Linked DNA regions of Homo sapiens: region 2 is linked to region 1. Evidence: promoter capture Hi-C in human tissues and cell types (Jung and others, 2019). All regions are on one chromosome and are shown on one strand. Each heading gives the region's core, a stretch centred on a gene start or on the middle of the fragment in contact. The rest is flanking DNA. Distances are from core to core; before and after follow the strand shown.

The links. Contacts are between HindIII fragments. The study calls those that stand out against the background at their distance.
Region 2: a contact is called between a fragment that was not itself captured here and the fragment with the promoter of GEM in region 1, in 2 of the 25 tissues and cell types used here (aorta and small bowel).

Annotation. Positions count from the first base shown.
Region 1 is chr8:94,260,871-94,264,718 of GRCh38, reverse strand. GEM (GTP binding protein overexpressed in skeletal muscle) reads left to right here and starts at 2,400. Exons shown (of 5, transcript NM_005261.4): 1 at 2,400-2,629. RefSeq lists a silencer at 3,089-3,158. The HindIII fragment of the contact is 10,611 bases long and covers 1-3,848 here.
Region 2 is chr8:94,167,929-94,171,796 of GRCh38, reverse strand. CDH17 (cadherin 17) reads left to right here. Exons shown (of 18, transcript NM_004063.4): 8 at 812-943; 9 at 1,250-1,400. It overlaps LOC105375647 (a long non-coding RNA gene), which reads right to left. Exons shown (of 3, transcript XR_007061012.1): 3 at 3,706-3,868. Among named protein-coding and RNA genes, the nearest start is that of CDH17, 39 kb to the left of the region's middle. The HindIII fragment of the contact is 6,412 bases long and covers 1-3,868 here.

The DNA of each region.
Region 1 (3,848 bases), core at 1,151-3,650:
GTGTTCTTGTTTGTGTTCATGTGGCTTCTTGTGAGACAGACAATTTAAAAAATTTAAAAATTGTTCTATTATCCAAACACAACATTGCTGTGTGCCCCTTCCCTTTCCCCAGTCCCTGGAGTTCATTTTCTTTTGTATGTTTCACATATACCAATGACAAATAGTTCATAGTAGATATTGCCTAGGTATGGAATTAGTTTTTTTTTTGTTTGTTTTGTTTGTTTGTTTTGAGATGGAGTCTTGCTGTGTCGCCCAGGCTGGAGTGCAATGGCACGATCTCGGCTCACTGCAACCTCTGCCTCCCAGGTTCAAGCGATTCTCCCGCCTCAGCCTCCTGAGTAGCTGGGATTACAGGCATCCACCACCATGCCCGGCTATTTTTTTGTATTTTTAGTAGAGACAGGGTTTCATTACGTTGGCCAGGCTGGTCTTGAACTCCTGACCTCGTGATCCACCCACCTCAGCCTCCCAAAGTGCTAGGATTACAGGCGTGAGCCACTGTGCCTGGCCAGAATTAGGTTTTTATAAATGTGAAGTATTAGATTCTTATCAATCGGCAAAAGTAGAACTGAGGAACTATATCATATGCTTATAAACTGATTTCTTCTTAGTTTTTACTCCTATGATGTTTCTGTTGAGACCAGTTGACAGAGTAGGAGTGTCAGTATGGAAAAAGCATGGATCATTTTGAAACATGGATTATTCATCAATTACATGTGTTTTAGAATGGAGTCAGTGATATACTCTTGGAGATGATCTCCCCCACCCCCCATCTCCTCTCCTTTTCCTTTCCCCACATCTGTAGCCACTTCCTGTCAGCGAAACCCAGAAGAAAAACTTGACAGAAGCAAAGGGCATCCAGAGAATTATGATCCCCAGGTTGTAGTTCCAGTTCTGTCATGTCCTAAGCGGTCATCTCCTCTCTGGGTCTCAGGTTTCTTATGTATAAGATAAGTAGGAGATTGGGGCCACAACACCTGAGACTAAAGGAATTCTAAGTTTTCATTACTCTATGGATTCCACCTTTGCTAGCTTGGGACCTGGCAGGTCTCAGCAGCTGGTCATGTAGCTAATTCTCAAAGCAGATAAATGCCTGCAGGATAACTGTGAATTGACTCTAATCACAGCAGAGTCCAGCTGCTTCAATAGATGCTGGTGCCTTTGGCTGCTTCCCGGAGCCACCAGCCAACCCAGAGTTGAAGCTGGCTGGAAAAGCAGATATGTTGGAGAGGCCAGCATCATCTCTAAACACAGCATCTGGGAAATACCCATGTCCCCAGAAAGAGGTCATTGAAATCCTTCACTTGGTGGTGCAGTGCAGAGACTCAGGAAAACCAGGCTTTGAGTCCTGACCCTGCCACTTATACCAGCGGTGTGACCTTGGGCAAATTCTCTGGCCCTATGTTATCTTCCTCCTCCATACAATGAGGGTAGAAATAGAGCCACCTTGCAGAAGTATAGTAAGGATTAAGGTCCCAGGAGGCCTAACAGTACCTACTAAGCAGAGGTCCTCAGAGGTACTTAATAAATGGTAGTAGTAGTTATTATCCTGTGCCCTTTGTTCACAGGAGTCTCTTACAGGGGTGTTGGTCTCAGTGCTCCTCCCCATGGCCAGGCTGTATTGGCTCATGCCCAAGGCGTAGCCTTGCCAGGGAGCCTGGTACAGAGATGCTGCTGATTGGGATGCTGATTAAATTCCCTGATTGAGGAGCCTCAGCATTCTGGCCCAGAGCAGGAGGGCCAGCAATATTTAGCACAATCTGCTTGGATCCTCAATTAAATTGTTTTTCCAAACTGCCCTTTTCAAGGTCTTGTCCTCTTTCCTCACCTCTTTCTGGCCCCTTCTCTCTGGGTCCTTGCCAGAGAAGGGAAACAAAGCCTTGTGGGGCTCCATCTGCTTCCCCCTATCCAGAAGAAGGTGACAAGGCTGTCTTCGTTGCAGAAGATGTGGTTAAAACAAGCCTTGGCTATTCAAGGTGGCTGCAGTCTCATCCTGGAGGCTAAAGTCTCTGCGCATTCCAGGTTGATCTCTGTTTTCTTGGCAAAACTGAGTTCTCAACTCAAACCTGCCTCTCCCTTCCATCCTTTATCCCGACAGCTCGCAAGTGCTTTGCTGGGAAGGACGATTAAGTGTCACTTAGTGTATTTTTCCATTTTCCTGTGTTCATCTGGTAAAAAGAAAATAAAACAAAATAAAGGAGGCCCAGGATTGAACTGTCATTATTTTTTAAATGGAGAGAGAAGGGGTCACATGACTGCGAGTAACTGATTTAGCCAAGTGGCTGCAACTCCGAGTTTGCTGCAGAGCCGCCCCCTCCCGGCGGGGGCGCTGACGTCACGGAAAAGCCCCGCGGCGGGTCGGCTGGGCTGGTTATAAACCGCCCGGCCGCGGCGGCTGCAGGCGGCGGGCAAGGACGGCGGGCACAGCGCAGCACTCCCCGCTCGTTGGCCCGGGTATCCCAGCGCGGACCCACGCGATACGCTGACGCCCCGACGCCGATCCGGCCGAGCCAAGTAAGGGGGACGGCCCGAGACGGAGAAGGGAGAGAGTGGGAGTTTCCCAGCCCGCAGAACTTTCGAAGTTGAGAAAAGAACCCCTGGAACGTGCGCTCAGCACTGGGATTTTCTGGTAGGGGTCAGAGCTTCAAGTGCAAAGGATGTCGCTTCTCATCAGCAGGTTCCTTAGTTCAATTCGGTAGAAGGGTCACCTCCCTCTACAGATCGAGTGGTCAGAGAGGGCAGCCCTTAATGATGCTTTATGTATTTGTTGTTTGAATGTAAGTCTGCCAACTGAGGTGCTGCTTTTGAGACTAAAAAACCGGCTGGTCGTCCTGGTTAGTGGCGAGATGTTGGGGTACGGAGTGTGGGGGTGAGGGTGGGAGAGGAGTGTTTGTGCATCTTGCTGATTGCAACGTAAGTACTTATACTTTATCACCAGTAGCCGGAAAAACAGACCTCCCGGCTAGGGGAGGCAGTCTGCAAAGGGAAAGTTGTAGAGAAGTTGTTGAATATCATTTAGGGGAGTCTTCAGCCTTCTGATTTGCTTCAAGAAGGGGATCTGAGAATGGTGGCTCAGGCCTGTGATCTCAGCACTTTCGGAAGCCGAGGCAGGAGGATCACTTGACCCCAGGAGTTCGAGACCAGCCTGGGCAACATAGTGAGGCCACTGTCTCTACCAAAAAATAAAAATAAAAATAAAAAAACTAGTGGACGTGGTAGTGCAGGTCTGTAGTCCCAGCTACTTGGGAGGCTGAAGTGGAGGATCTCTTGAGCCTGGCAGTTGGAGGCTAGCTACAGTGAGCTATGATCGTGCCACTGCACTCCAGCCTGGGTGACAGAGCAAGACCCTGACTCAAAAAAGGAATCTGAGTTGAATTAAAGAACTCTTGAGAATGGATGTGGTTTTTTAAGAATGAGGCACTTTCTCTGCAAATTTCATAGGTCTGAACATGAGCAGGTCATTTCTCTGCCAGGGTGTCTAGGTTTGGAGCCGGGATGTTTTAAAAGTGGTATCTGTGGGTAAGAGGGCACAGCTGAGGCATAAACTTTAAACAGAAAATTTCCCCCCTACCCCCAATAATGGCAGGTGGATGCTCTCCAGGCAGCTGGAGAGCATCAAGGCAACTTTACTAAACATGGAAGTTCCAATAAGTGCCTGTCCAGTCCAGCCAGGGTTGCAGTGGGCAGGGGAGGGGAGGGTGATGTCATTGCCACGTGTTTCCCACTGAGGCACAAAACCTGCTGGACACTGGTGCAATTAAGAGCCAAGTTTAGACAAGAGCAGCTAACCTGACCAGCTGGTCCCCAGCAACATTAACTTGTTGCTTTTCAAGCCATCTTTGGAGTCT
Region 2 (3,868 bases), core at 390-2,889, 92 kb after region 1:
CAACTAGCAGTAGGACCTTGGGCAAGTCGCTTAAATTTTTTGTGCCCTAGTTTCTTCATTATAAAATAGAGATAACAGTAGTCTGTACGTCAGAGGACTGTTTGGAGATTAAATGAGATATAACACATAAATATGTTTAGAATTGTGTCTGGCATGTGGCAAACTCAGTAAACATTATTAATATATCAGACCAGGCTCTGTCTATATAGCAAGTAGACTGGTCTTACTTGTGTTTATTTTTTATTTTTGCCAGGTTGTTTACAAACAACCCTAGGAGTTGGCAGTTATTCTCATCCCTGAAGTCTCTGAGGCTAAATATTTAGGAAAGGAATGTCCTTATTTTTGTATCATTTGTCTTACTTAATGGCATGGAGAAGACTTCAGAGTGGCCCCTATTGCCCCTGTTCATCTTCATTGGTGAGTATTAGATGCTCACCATACATTGTGGCTTAGTCCTCAGACACTGCCAGCCACAAAGTACATTTTGTTTCTTAAATGGATGGTTCGTGGATAGAAAGCTTTCACAGTCAGACTTCCAAAAGAAAGCAGCCCAGAAACCCTGTAGAGGGTTTGTGAAGAATTGCTTTAGAGAAGAAACATTTCCTGGTGTGCTTTTTTCGAGCAATATAACTTGGTGGGGGGAAACAGGCTTATTTTAGGTTAAAAGTGAAAAACGTAATTCAGTTGTTACAAGAAACCACAAACATACAAGGTTGTCAGAGATTTCAAATTGAGAACTAGAAAATTATTTCCTTTCCAGTTCTCTCAGTCCAAATACAGCTTTCCTCACAACTGACTTTGGGCCCTGTAGGTGCGGTGGAATGATCCCGGTGCACAATATTCCTTAGTTGACAAAGAGAAGCTGCCAAGATTCCCATTTTCAATTGACCAGGAAGGAGATATTTACGTGACTCAGCCCTTGGACCGAGAAGAAAAGGATGCAGTGAGTAAAAGAGAAGAGTTTCACAGGCGACAAGACAAAGTCCTATGCCCATCTACAGTTGAGAGCAAAATGGATTTTACTTTAAAGAAAAAAAAAACACACATTTCAGACTCCAGCATATTATTGGTTTTCAAAGACATGATAATTTTCACATAATTCTGACCCATCTCAGTTTTTAAAATTTTCCAATTCTAAGTGAATTAAAAATAAGGGAGTAAATGACATAGAAATGAAACAACGATTTTCTCTGCTTTTGACAGAGGGTGGTGGGTGAGTCTTGCCTTAACTCTGACTTTCCTGTTGTAGTATGTTTTTTATGCAGTTGCAAAGGATGAGTACGGAAAACCACTTTCATATCCGCTGGAAATTCATGTAAAAGTTAAAGATATTAATGATAATCCACCTACATGTCCGTCACCAGTAACCGTATTTGAGGTCCAGGAGAATGAACGACTGGGTAAGAAATGAGAGCTGCCTAATGCTGTGTAACTGCCCTCCATTTCTCTCCTCTGCTGGGTAAAAGGTGAGCAGGAGACCTTACTGGGAGTCAGTAATCCATGTCTTCCACAGCATAGAGGTTGACTGTACCTTGGGAGTCACGTAAGGACCGTATTTGGGATCAAACAGTATCTGGATAGTATTCTTAAATTGGGGCTTTTATAGCTACCATTACCGCTACTACCATTATCACTATCATTATCAACCTTACTACTATCATTAGTATCACAGCCACCTACACTAGTATCTTATATACATGTATATAGGGATATCTCATTTGCAGGATTTCCCCATACGTTATTTGACTTCTAATAATCTCATTAAAGAGATAATCTCATCACATTTGCCAAAGAATTTAAACATTTACACCCAAAGTCAGACAGACACCCTGCAATAAGTAAGCAACACCAATGGAAGTTGACTTTTGACCCTTGGGCCCCCCTTTCCAAGAAGCTGATAATATAATTCAAGAGGCTGCTAGATGAAGTCAAATCCCATCTATTTTTATCATTTTTGCTTTGTCTTGCTATGTTTTCTTTTACTGTGTCCTGTGATAGCTTTTTAGTTTTTGTATAGGAACAACTACTATAAGAACATTATAATTTCTGGGAGTTTTATGGCTTCTCTGGGTTTGGGACAATGCTTGTCTGTTTCCCCCTTGGCAGTGAGCCCCTTGACTGAGCAGACTGGCATTTCTTGAACTGTTTTGTTCTGTTGTGCTGTGTACCTTTCAGAGGCTTCCAAGTGTAGCAGCCTCACGACTATCATTTCTAGAGCTTCACTGCCCTTGTGGAGAGATCCTCCTGTGCTTTGTGGATGGGCTCACATTTTCTTTTCGTCCCTCCATTCCTCACCAGACACACCTCTGACAGAGTGGGTGCCTTCCCGGAGGCTTGGTGGGCGCTGCTGGAGCGGCTTGCTCACACTGCTCATTATTTTTCTTCTTGCTATCAGGTGTCGTGTGGGCTGCCTTTTGTCAGTGTGTTCTGTGTCACTGTGTTCTGTGCAGGTCCTCTCTGTTTCATTTTTCTCAACTCTTGCCACAACAGGAAGAGTTAATGCCAGCTTGAAGGACTTCAGTTCGTTATAAGGAAGAATCTTCTCACAGTCACAGTAGTGTAACAGTAGCCAACAAACACGTGTGCCATCACCTTCTTGGGAAATCTGGGATGGTCTGTGACACTGAATAAAGGTGGAAAATCTTTGACAACTTTCTTGACCCGGACATGACACTTCAAGCCTCTTTTACATTGGGCCAATCATATAGTCTATTTGTTACCTATTTCTGCAAAACAGATTGCTCTAAATCTTGGCAGCTTGAAACAACAAGCATGTATCATGTCACAGTTTCTGTGAGTCTGGAATCTGGGTGAAGTTCAGCTGGATACCTCTAATTCAGAGAGTTCTGAGAGAGAGGGAAAGAGTACGGCAGAGCAGGAAAGGACAGGCATCAGTCTTTCTATGACCTAATCTTGGAAGCGATCCCATCACTTTTGCCATTAGAAACAAGTTGCTAGGTCCAGCCTGCACTCAACAGGATGGGGTTCTGAAAAAGCACAAATATCAGGAGATGGGGGTTGCTGGAAGCTCTTTTCGAGGCGCCTACCTCATCTGGGAAGAGGATAGTGCTGGTTTTCTGAGACTGAAGAAGTCATTGTTGGTAGAATAAATTTTGAAGGGGCTCAGCTTGCTATTTGCCTCTCTAAAGGTGAGAATTTATTTTGTAAAAATATTTCAGAGTCTTTAGTGGACCAAGAATTCTTATAAATCAACTGAGCATATTCTATATATGTAAGCTTAAAAGGGTACAAGACAATGCTCCTGCCTTGTGGGGACTTACTGTCTAGCTTAGCTGATAGGACATGAGTAGGTGGAAATATTCACAAATAAAACCTTGATAAAATACTGAATTAGGCCAGGTGCAGTGGCTCATGCCTGTAATCCCACCCAGCACTTTGGGAGGCCAAGATGAGCAGATCACTTGAGGCCAGGAGTTCGAGACCAGCCTGGCCAACATGGCGAAACCCTGTCTCTACTAAAAAAAAAAAAAAAAACTGCAAAAATTACCCAGGTGTGGTGGTGCATGCCTGTAATCTCACCTACTTGAGAGGCTTGTAGAGATTGCAGTGAGCTGAGATCATGACACTGTGCTCCAGCCCAGACAACAGAGTGAGACTCCATCTCACACACACACACAAATATATATATATATATATATATATATATATATATATATATATATATATATATATATATATTCCCCAGTGTATTTACATTCTCCTGTTTGGTATCTTGTGGAACTCGTGTCCCCAAGTCTTAGCAACACTAACATTTATTCTTGAATCCCACTTGCCACCAAGTCTTATGTATTCATACAGAAAATTTAGACTCTCATAAAAACCCCACCTCCCTAAATATTTCTGCATA